3 separate regions of the Homo sapiens genome follow, and regions 2 and 3 are each linked to region 1. The links are contacts of gene promoters, found by promoter capture Hi-C in blood cells and fetal thymus (Javierre and others, 2016). All regions are on one chromosome and are shown on one strand. Each heading gives the region's core, a stretch centred on a gene start or on the middle of the fragment in contact. The rest is flanking DNA. Distances are from core to core; before and after follow the strand shown. Region 1 holds the start of SND1 (staphylococcal nuclease and tudor domain containing 1). Region 2 holds the start of IQUB (IQ motif and ubiquitin domain containing). Region 3 holds the start of WASL (WASP like actin nucleation promoting factor).

Evidence for each region. The method cuts DNA at HindIII sites, captures the fragments that hold promoters and counts their contacts. A CHiCAGO score of 5 or more calls a contact.
Region 2: a contact is called between the fragment with the promoter of IQUB here and the fragment with the promoter of SND1 in region 1, in 3 of 17 cell types (non-activated CD4 T cells, total CD4 T cells and naive CD8 T cells). The highest score is 15.7, in non-activated CD4 T cells.
Region 3: the fragment with the promoter of WASL here is called in contact with the fragment with the promoter of SND1 in region 1 in 2 of 17 cell types (M1 macrophages and M2 macrophages); the score reaches 7.6 in M1 macrophages.

Annotation. Positions count from the first base shown.
Region 1 is chr7:127,650,569-127,654,286 of GRCh38, forward strand. It overlaps SND1 (staphylococcal nuclease and tudor domain containing 1), which reads left to right and starts at 1,626. Exons shown (of 24, transcript NM_014390.4): 1 at 1,626-1,883. The coding sequence starts at 1,806. SND1-DT (SND1 divergent transcript) reads right to left here and starts at 1,264. Exons shown (of 2, transcript NR_186577.1): 1 at 1,105-1,264. RefSeq lists a silencer at 1,175-1,424 and enhancers at 1,222-1,840, 1,665-1,844. The HindIII fragment of the contact is 9,151 bases long and covers 1-3,718 here.
Region 2 is chr7:123,533,225-123,536,942 of GRCh38, forward strand. IQUB (IQ motif and ubiquitin domain containing) reads right to left here and starts at 1,371. Exons shown (of 13, transcript NM_178827.5): 1 at 1,268-1,371. It overlaps LOC124901740 (a long non-coding RNA gene), which reads left to right and starts at 1,307. Exons shown (of 2, transcript XR_007060507.1): 1 at 1,307-2,201; 2 at 2,381-3,035. RefSeq lists silencers at 1,438-1,667, 1,688-1,837, 1,918-2,047 and an enhancer at 2,118-2,257. The HindIII fragment of the contact is 3,094 bases long and covers 734-3,718 here.
Region 3 is chr7:123,747,110-123,750,827 of GRCh38, forward strand. WASL (WASP like actin nucleation promoting factor) reads right to left here and starts at 1,894. Exons shown (of 11, transcript NM_003941.4): 1 at 1,509-1,894. The coding sequence starts at 1,625. WASL-DT (WASL divergent transcript) reads left to right here and starts at 2,086. Exons shown (of 1, transcript NR_170281.1): 1 at 2,086-3,718. RefSeq lists enhancers at 815-864, 1,624-2,278 and silencers at 1,307-1,396, 1,857-2,176. The HindIII fragment of the contact is 6,394 bases long and covers 1-3,718 here.

The DNA of each region.
Region 1 (3,718 bases), core at 376-2,875:
ATTGAAGTATTTCAGGATTATTGGCTGAAGACCGTGCACCAAGTGTTAACAATTTCAATGAATGACACGGTAGAAATAGGGGTACGGTAGATAAAAAGCCACGAGATAGAGAGGGGTATAATCTGATGGAACCAACTTCCACAGAGGTTTTTTTTTTTTTTTTTTTTTTTTTTGGAAAAGGGTGGCAAATTAGGGATCTAAGAAGGTGACCTCAAAACTTAACCCTGGGATATGTTTAGTGTGGGAGAATAAACTTACAATCTTTTAAGAGAGCAAGGGGCCATGCACTGTGGTTAATGCATGTAATACCAGCACTTTAGGAGGCCGAGGTAGGAGTATAGCTTGAGCCCAGGAGACCAGCCTGGGCAACATAGTGAAATCTCAGCTCTACAAAAAAAAAATTAGCTGGGCGTGGTAGCGCGGACCCGTGGTACCAGCTCCAGCTACACCGGAGACTGAGGCAGGAGGATCGCTTGAGCCTGGGAGTGTCAAGGCTGCAGTGAGCCGTGATCGTGCCCCCGCACTCCAGCCTGAGCGACAGAGCGAGACTTTGTCTCAAAAAAGCCACAAAACCAAAGAAACAAAAAGAACTGCAAGGGAAGTACTGTCTTCAGTGTAGAGCCAAGTTTTACGATTAAATGACATAACACATGCAAGGTCCTTGGTTCCACATAGTGGGCACTCAACGAATATTAGTTCTCGCTAAACAGTCACTTAAATATTTGTAGGCCTTGGCTTTCCCGTTCCTTCCCCGACCTTTTTACTGGGGCTAGGGAAGGTATCCGGTGGCTGGAGGCGCTTCACACTGGGTCGGGTGAGAGCGTGAAGCGAGCCTTTTCCCTAACGTCACGGGAGCAGCTGGGAAGAGACCGAAGAACGAGGGTCACTCTCCCCTGTATACGTGGCATGTCCTTCCTCTGAGACATTTATTCCTCCCACCAACAAACATTAATGGAACGCCTCACAAGTGCTAGACCCCAGCGACACAAACAAGGGCGAGGCACACTCTCTGACTACAAAAAGGGCGCGCGGCCGCGTGGCAGGTCAAAGCCCACATCGGTAGGAGGTTCCACAAAGCTCTGATTTTCCAAGTTCTCTCCATACTTTTAGCCAAGGTAAAATGTCGGAAGTCGAGTGGAGCGGGTACGGAGATTCCTCCAGGACTCTGCCTGCGTGGCTCCACCCTCCCAGGCCGCATTCCCGGGTACAGCGGCGCCCACCTAGGTGGGTATACAAGTGTGCGCCCCTGAGGCCAGCGGGGAAGGACGTCATGGGCGAGGTCAGGCGGGAGGGCGCGGCTGGCTCCGCCCCTGGGGCTCCCATGGCCCCCCGCGCCCCGCGGCCAGATGCTGACGTGTCCTTTCCTTCCCACTACACCTCCCGACATTACCTACTCCGGCTGCCCCGGAAGTCCCGCCCCATATTTAGCCCATCCTTGCAAATCAACTCTTTCAGCGCTTCCTGGAACTCACCACCGTTTTGGGGACCAAGAGGCGGGGCTCCGCGAGCAGGGTGCCTATTGGCCTGAGGGCCGGCGGGCTCTGGGCGCTAATTGGGCGGAGGGCGGTGGCGCTCTGGCACGCTTGCGCGGCGAGTAGAACGTGTGGCGGCGGCGGAGATCGCGTCTCTTTCGCTCCGTGTCCCGCTGCTGCTCCTGTGAGCGCCCGGCGAGTCCGTCCCGTCCACCGTCCGCAGCTGGTAGCCAGCCTGCCCCTCGCCTCGACTCCCTTTCACCAACACCGACACCCACATTGACACCTCCAGTCCGGCCAGCCGCTCCACTCGTTGCCTTTGCATCTCCACACATGGCGTCCTCCGCGCAGAGCGGCGGCTCCTCCGGGGGACCCGCGGTCCCCACCGTGCAGCGGGGCATCATCAAGATGGTGAGAACGGGCCCCGGACACCGACCCCTCTGCCTGCCTTCGGGCGGGAGTCAGGCATTGACTCCACCTTCCGCCAGCCTGCTCCATGTCCCAGATCCCCTTTCCTCTGCCCCCTTCCTCACTTTTCGTCGATTCTCCGAATCCTCTCACTAGACGGAAGCAGACACGGAGTCCCCTTGTTCCTTGCCTCCCGGACACCTTGACATCAGGGGTCACAGTGATTTCCGAGGTTGCGGCATTCGGATCTCCTGTCTGTTTACCAGGACAGATCGATTACTGATTGATTAACAGAGACAATTCGTTGATATCTGTCCTCCCATCCCCCGTCTTTCTGTTCATTTTGACATATGCTGAGTAGTTAGTAGTTTTTCGAGATCCTGACATCGGCTCTTCTCTACTAGTACTTGGCCATCATGAAACTTTTCTGTTCCCACAAACGCTGTTACTTGACTCCCAAGTTTTCTCACTCTGTGGCCCTCTTTTCCTCTCTTTCCCTCCACCTCTTGTGTCGACCTGAAAGCTCCTGATCTTTGTGTACTTTTGACTTCTAAAAGGTTAGGCCGGCAAGAATCTTAGTAATCATCATTGTTCTCCCGTCCCTTAAAGATAAGGAGATAGGCTTGAAGAAGGCAAGTGACTTGCTTAAGGTCACATGGTGGTTTGGGTTGGAGCCATAGCAAGAGCCCAAGTGTTCGGATTCCTGGTCTAGTGCTCATAGCACTATAGATTCTGCCTGATTTTATATACCCTCAACTTTTTGAAAATTCTTCAATTTTGAATTTGAACCTGCAAAGTTTATTTTTACAATTTACTCCTAGCTCCATGATAATTTGATAATATAAATTCAGTTTATCACTTGCCCCCAGTTGTCCTCCCCAAAACCCTTCCAAATCTTGGAACCTGACATTTCTTGGTTTTACCAATTTTCTGGTTTATGATGACTGTAAACTTCTAGATGTCGTTTCATACTGCAGTTCTGACATTTGTATCTGCAACAGCAAATATCTTTTGTGATACTTTCTCCCAAGGCTCCACAAGTTTTGCTGTTGTAGAAAGTTTTGAAAAATTCTATTTTAGGCCTGGTGCGGTGGCTCATGGTGGTAATCCCAGCACTTAGGAGGCCGAGGTGGGAGGATTGCTTGAGGCCAGGAGTTGGAGATCAGCCTGGGCAACATAGCAAGACCCAGTTTAAAAAAAATTCTATTTTATTACCCTGTTATCTTTCACAAGATTAAAATGTTCTGCAGCTTATGTGTGTGTAAAGCTGATTTTAAGATCCCCTCGCCCAATTCCCATGTGCTCATTTCTTAAGGTAATAGTCTGCCACCAGCCAAGATTCTTGGGATTTTCAGTACTGCCTTTTCCTTTTGTTTATGTGTAATGGAGGGTCAGAACTGATCTGAAACTGAATGAGAAGAGAATTTCCAAGATCCGCATATATTTTTCCTCTGAAATACTGACCTGACCCATGAAAGGATTATCCTAAAGTGGCTCTTCTTTCGTTAGCTTTTTCATTTGCACTGATCTTCTCTTCACCATAGGAACAAAAACATCTCTTGGCTCTCCGGTGTTGGGTTTGGCAGTAAGAAAGAGTGGATCTTTCTGAGATTTCTCCTTGCTGAGGTTTAAATTGTTCTTAAAGGTCTCTCTCATTTGTGGAATGGGAATAGAATGAGGCTGAACATAGTTTTGTTTCCGCCAATGCTGGAGGCTTTTAGGGCATCTGGATTCTGTGCGGTGACTGCCCACAAATTACCCCCATGGATACTGAATATCACCAATTACTTGTTTATTGTCATGTCTTGTGCTGACTATTCTGCTCATATTGTCTCATT
Region 2 (3,718 bases), core at 121-2,620, 4.1 Mb before region 1:
AAACATTTTATACATCTATCTCTGTATATATGTGTAAGTATACTGAAAATGAGTTCCCAGAATTAGAATGGACAAGTCAAAGGGCATACAGATCTTAATTTTGTTAAATTCCATCAAACTGTTTTCTATTATAGCCCCAAGAAGTTCCCCTTGACTGTTTCCTTACATCCTCATATTGTTTTATGAGTCCTAATAATTAAATATCCCTTTGTTGTGTGTTGCCCTTATATTTCCCATTGTATGTTTGATGTTGTTTTTCTCTTACTATATAAAAGTTTTAGATTGTTAGGTAGTGACATTTATCAATCTTTTTGCTTATGAGAGTTTCCAAATTTCCTGACATGCTTCGAAACACCTTCTCACAATGAAACATAAATACATAAATTCATCCATAAATGCATAAATGAGACAGATCTGTAAATATTGATAGAAAACAACTGGACACACAGTCTTAAGTGTAAAAGCCAATCACAGAAGAGTATGCACAATGTTACAGGTGTAACTACATATTTGCGTATGTCTAAAACACCTGTGGAAGGTGGCCTGGAGATGGGGAGAAATGGGTAGATGGAGGATTTTCACTCTTCATTCTTTTTACTATTCGAACTATTTTTTTATGTATTATCTATTCAAATGAAAATGTTTAAATCTTATTGTTTAAAAAGCAACCTCTATCATGTTTGCATACAAAAAAGTCTCCCTTTTCACCTACATTTCATTCCCTACCATTTAAAGCTTAACACATTTAGAATGTAGTATAATTAGTGAGGCAGGGATCCAGTATTGCCTTCTACCAAATAGATCTGTTGAATTTTTAGGTTTGTTAAGAGGCAAAGACCAAGGGTGGAGAGGAAGGAGTGAGAGTGCCAGGTGAGGAAAGTCTAAAATCTCTCGACTTAATATGAGAATGGTGGCCACGGAAGGCTAAGAGTCTCTAGTGCCAGGTGTGGGTTATACACACATCTTCTATGCAATTACCGTGACAAGCACCCAGGGTGTGAGGTGAGGTGTACCTCCTAGCTTGATGCTGCTGGTTCAAGTCCCAAATCAGAGAGGGGAAGCCAAAAAAGGAGCCGAGAAAGATGAGATGCTTCGCACGGTTTTTAAAGTAAAGTCGGAACATTCCTGACCGACTAGGCAGCCCCAGGCGCTCAGGTGGGAATCACTGCCCAGCACACAGAACCCAGAGTCCAGCGCGGCTGTCACCGGCTCTAGGCTGGATCTAAGCGTCGGACCAGGAGGCCGCAGTCAAAATCTGTTCTCCTACCTGTGTACGAAACCAAACTATTCTCGTCGAAGTGCTTTCCCAGGCTCCTAAGACGCAGCTTCCATACTCGCCGCGTTCTCAGCTGTTGGTCGTATCCTAGCAACGGCCCTGGCACCACCTCTTCCTGCCGGAGCACGGCAGGGGTGGGAAGGAGAGGAGCCAGAGGCGGGTGGGGGGGAGGAGCCAGAAGAGGGCAGCGGGGAGGGGCCGGGAAGGAGGAGCGCGGCAGGGTAGGGGGAGGAGCCAAAGACTGGGGGCGGGGCCGGGAAGGAGGAGGGCGGCAGAAGAGAAGGGGATGAGCCAGAGGCGGGGAGGTGGGGCCGGGAAGGAGGAGTGCGGCAGGAGAGAAGAGGAGTAGCCAGAGGCGGAGGGGCGGTGTCGGGAAGGAGGAGCGCGGCAGGAAATAAGGGAAGGAGCTAGAGGCGGGCTGGGGGCCGGGGTCTGGAAGGAGGATCGCGGTAGGGAAGAAGAGGAGCCAGAGGAGGGGGATGGGGGCTGCAAAGGAGGAACGCGATAGGGAAAAGGGGGAGGAGCCAGAGGCGAGGGGGCGGGGAGAAGAAACATGGCAGGAGAAAGGGGAGGAGCCAGAGGCGAAGAGACAGGAAGAGGGACGCGTCAGGGAGAAGGGGAGGAGTCAGAGGCGAGCGGGCGTGGAGGAGGGAAGCGGCAGGGAGAAGGGGCGGGGCCAGAGGCGAAGGGGCGGGGAGGAGGGACGCGGCAGGGAGAAGGGGAGGAGCCAGAGGCGGAGGCTGTTACCAACTGGCTACCTAGATCCAAGTGAATCAGGACACTAACTTCTCTCCAAGATCTTTTACACTTGTGAAACGGCACAGCTCTCTAAACCAAACACTGACAGCAGTTTAATTTTACAGATATAAAAAAAATCCGAGTCAGAGAAATCATCACGATGAAGTCAGAGGCGAGAAACTGTCAGGTGCCTACTTGCTTTTGTTAAACTAACAACTTGGCTCTCAGCTTCCTGGCAGCCAAAGAGAAAAGGGAGATAGTAGCTATCAAATAATTCTGCTTAGAAGAACTTTTGTTAATCACTAAATTAGTTAATAAACTAAATTTTGTCTAACAACAAATTCTTTTTTTTTTTTTTTTTTCTAGTGTATACAGAGTCTTGCTCTGTCGCCCAGGTTGAAGTGCAGTGGTTCGATCTCGGCTCAATGCAACCTCTACCTCCCTGGCTCCCGCGATTCTCCTGCCTCAGCCTCCTGAGTAGCTGAGATTACAGGCGCCCGCCACCACCCCCGGCTAATTTTGGTATTTTTAGTAGAGATGGGGTTTCACCATGTTGGCCAGGCTGATCTGGAACTCCTAGCCTCAAGCAATCCGCCTTCAAAAGTGTTGGGGATTACAGGAGTGAGCCACCGCGCCCGGCCTATCAATGAATAAGAAAACTTTTAAAGAACCACAGGATAGTATTGGAGGTCAAGTCAAGTATGTTCCTCTTGGAAATTTAGTAACAAACTACATGTTGCTATCTCATAATAGCAGCTAACATTTATGAAGTATTCATTGTCATGAGGCACCGTACATAGATTTCTAATTTAATCCTTACAACGATTTTATTAGGGAGAAACTGCTATTAGACCCATTTTGTAAATGAGAAAACTAAGGCACACAAAGTTTAATGAGGGAACCAGGATTAAACCTAAGCAATCTAACTCCAGGTCCCAGATTTTTTAACCATTACAGTACTGTTTAATTTGATTTGATATGTTAAAAGGATTAATAAAATTAATACAGGTCCATTCCCTTATTCATAAATGTTCATTGTCTTCATTTATTTCTTTATACTGTTCTGCTGAAATTGCACTCTCATCTCCCCAATAACTTTGTAATATCCAATGCCATTTTTTTCAGTCATCCCATTTTAAAATATATTTTTACTAGAATAGTGAAATATATATTCAGATAAAATTGGCTTTGTTTTAATAATGATCAGTAAAAGTAAATTCATTTTAATCATTTCCACACATTCATGAAAAGTAAAGGGGAAAAATGGGCATAGAGGTAACCACTAGAATTAGGCTTTCTTGGATGGGTAGACCAGGTGTGGAGGTGTGCAGATAAGATTTTACAAACACTCATACACTCCCATCTCCAAAATCATAATTTATCTTACATTCTGCTACTAATAAACATTCCACTGGTTTTAAACATTCACTTTGCTGGGTCTCCTCTTTAAAATTTGTCATTCACTGTTCTCAATGTTAGAGACGGTATGCAAACAGTAGGTTTAGGAATAGAGTCAGGAGATGGGGGAAGAAAAACTGGTAGGAGAGAACTTAAGTGTCTCACAGTGTTAAATGTGACTTGATAGCCACTATTCATTTTTTTTTGTAGTTTGCTGTGAGGATGACTTTATACAATTTAATCTTAAATAGGAACCTAACTTAGTTAGGCTTCCTTGGGTAGTCTGTGGAGCATGGAAAAGTTATT
Region 3 (3,718 bases), core at 644-3,143, 3.9 Mb before region 1:
TAACAGGAAAAAAAAATACCCTTCTAAAACAACATGATGTAGTGCAAAGTACAATGGGATAGGACTAGGTGTGAGGAGTCCTGGTTTTCTAGTTCTGGTTACATTATTAAATTGCTGTATGACTTGGGCTCACTGGATCAGTTTTCTCATTTGTTGAAAAAAGTGTGTGTGAATGGGGAGGGGCTTAAAGTTGTTACCCAAAATTCTCGTTTTGAGCCACTCCTCTTGTTTCATCCTTCTAATCAGGAAACTCAATGTTCTCTAAGGTCTAAATTCCGAAATATGAAACACATCTGAAATTGAATGGAACGATTCAATCTCCAACCGGATGGCACAAGATACAAAGGGTGGACTCCTATGAAGTTAACAATGAATCCAATAACTTTCCAGAAATTGTCTAATCCTAACTTCTTAAAGAAGCAGGTGAAATCTGGTTTGGCATACCTAATATTACTTAAAGGAGTTATAAAATGGTATTGCTTTGTTGAAATTTCCGTGTTTTCTGGGTTCCAGTGGCACATACTCTGCAGGTGCTAGCAAAGTGGAGAGAAAGGGATCCAGCCAGTATTTCAACAAACCACACTTCAACCCAGTCACCGCAGTATGATCCCGACAAGGCCTACACCACAGAGCAGAACCTCCCCACCCCCAGAATTGCCAGCAGCCAATGTAATGAATGCTTCCGTCAACAACACACATTCCCCTTCCCACAGCAGAACTGCTCGCTCCCAACCGGCCATCTGGGGTTGGAATTGGCCGCACAGCACCAAACTAAGAATCATTCTCGGCCCCAAAAGCCAAGAGCTACCAGAGATTGAGGTTTCCCTGCGCATGGCTGCGGGGAGAGCAGCACCCCCTCCCACCAATGGGGGGAAAAAAAAAATCAGTGGGAAGGAGAGTAGAAACCAGGCCTAGGCAAGGTTGCTAGAGAAATAAATCTTGTTTCTCTTTAACGAAGAGCAATAACATTTCTTGCACCCTCTCTAATCCGAAGAGAGCCCAGGCTCTTGCACTCGACTTCATTCCCTCCTGGAATCCTAATGGGAGATTAAAAACCACCTTCCTTCCCCGACCTATCCACTCCTCAAACCTGGCATTGTTAAGGAACGTACCCCCAGATCAAGCAGTAAGAGGTGAAGCGAGAGCTAGAACAAGGGCCCAGATTCTAGGACCAAGCGGCTCTTGCAAGAAAATCCCCTTGTGGCCTGAGAATAAAGTTTTAACCAGCAGCAAGGGCGCGGGCCGAGGCCCGGCCAGGCTGGAGGACAGGCCTGCGGAGGTGACACTCCCTTATTCTCCAGCAGCTCGGGAAGGCGGCGCCCGACCGCCACGGCCCGCACCCTGGGAGCAGGGCGAGGGCGCCGACGAGGGGCCGGGGCCGGGGCCGGGGCTGGCGGGAGGCCTGGCCCGCGCCGCTCCCGCCTCCTTCCCCACTCCCACTTCCCGGCCCCCAAGCCCGGGCCCGTGAGGTAATGTCACGGGTGGCGACGCGGGTCTCGTCCACTGACCACACATTTCTTGCCGAGGAAAGTGAAGAGGGACTCGTTCTCCTGCGGGGTGAGCAACAGGGACCCCACGTTGGTGACCCTCCGCGGCGGCGGCGGCTGCTGCTGGACGGAGCTCATGGTTTCGCCGGCGGGGTTGGGAGTCCAGGGCCGTCTCCTCCGGCGAGTGGGCGAGAGCTCGTTCCCCCTCTCGGTGACAGGGGCGGGGAGAAGTGGAGTCAGAGGCGCCACATCTCGCAGCTCCTCCGGAGCGGGGAGGAGGACGAGGTCGAGGGAAGCAGGCGCTGACGGCGAGCCACCTTCGCGCCGCGCTGAGAAAGGGAAGCTCCCGGCACCCGCCCGGCCAGGCTAGGGCCGGATGGTCGTTGTCCTCGCACTCCGGCGACTGCGCTAAACTCCCAACTCCTCCCCCAACCCTCCCGCAGCGGCGGCGGCGGCCGCACAATCCAACATGGCAGCGGGGGCGGGCGAGACCACAGGACGGAGGGCGCGGGGGAGCGCGCCGGAAACGCGCGGCTGCGGCCCGGGAGAAACCCCCCCACTCGGCGGCGGGCCTCGCGGCGCGGGCCCGAAGCCACGCCCCCTTCCGGCCGAGGCGCGGACCGCGCGGAGCTAAGTGGAATCCCGGTTGGCTTGGGGCGCAGGCTTCCAACTTCGTACTCTGGCCTCTGGCGTCTCGGCTCGTCGGTTGGGTACCCGAACCCAGCTACTGCTGCTTGAAGAGAAGATGGATGGGGACTCCTCGCCGTCGCTGCGCCGCCGGCCTTCCCTGGGCGGACGTACACCTTTGCGAAGCGTCAGTGAGGACCCAGGGCCCCTCCTTGGAATAGCTCTTATTTCTCAAGCGCTGCAGCGTGAAGCTCGCTCTGCGGGTCCGAGAGGCCTGCGATCTGAAGACTGAAAACTGGGAAGAGACGCTCTACCCTGTGCTCCTCGCCGGCTTCGATAGGAGCCGCAGGTGCCTGGGATTTTCTCAAACTTTGTCCCAAACTTCAGCTGTGGGAGTGGAGGAACAAACAGGCCTCTCCCAGAATTGTGAAAGAGATCGCCCTGGTGGATGAAACAAAAACAAATGCACTTGACTTCCACCGCCTGCCTGGCGTGTCACGCGGGTTTAATGTATGTGTCACATTTAAATTCAAAGTATTTTCTTCTAAGGGCCTGGACACATTTCTTTTCTCCCTGTATCGTGAATTGGAAAATACCTTAGGATATTAAAAGTTATCTAAGATAACCCCCTTTCTTCTGTAAGTTAAATACTAAACGGCTTAAGACGAAATTTTGGAATATAGAGATGATGATGCAGACTGCAGTGAATTATCAAATATGCATCTCACTGTTCTCCACATTAAACATATTTTTGTTGCGTAAATTCATGTTAAGACGTCTATAACAATTACACTTTGGTAAAATTGTTGGATGTTAACATCTCTGATAGCTCCCAATAGAAATCTCTGATGTACTAACCAGACTGGTAAACCATTATCATGCACTTTGAAAATATAATAAAATATTATAATTAAAGCTGCCATTAATGAAATAGGCTGAGCAACAATAAATTTACAAAGGAAAATAAAAGTGGATAGCCTTGGGAGTTCTCACATAAAATATGGAGATTTCAAAGTTAAACTTGATTAATTATGTTAGGGTAAAAAGTGAATTAAAGCAACAGGACTATTTATAAAATAATTAGATTTAGAAAGCAGTCGTAGAAATATAAGCCTGGAGTTGCCTCTGAATTACATATTTAACAAACCTAGAAGCTAAATCAGTTTGTCTTTTATCAAAACTGCAACTCCTCTAAGTTGAAAGCACAGTGACAAGAGAAAGCATTACAAATTCTTGAGAAATAATAGAAATTAAAGCTCTTTTCAAACCTGTGAACAAGTATAGTACCAGAAGTATAAGATTCAGATAGGCCCAAGTTGTAGTTCTTGTTATGAGTCTTACAACCCTATGGACTTTGGACAAATTACTTCTCTGCGTCTGTTTCCTCATCTGTAAAATGAAAATAATTTCTGTTTCATACAGGTATAGTCTAAATAGGGATAATTACACCTACTTCAAAGTTGTAAAATACACAATTACAACTAGATAGGAGGTATAAGTTCTAGTGTTCTGTAGCACTGTAGGATGACTATAGTTAACAATATTGTATAGTTTCAAATAGCTAGAAGAAGGATATTGCATGTTCCCAAAACAAAGACATAAGT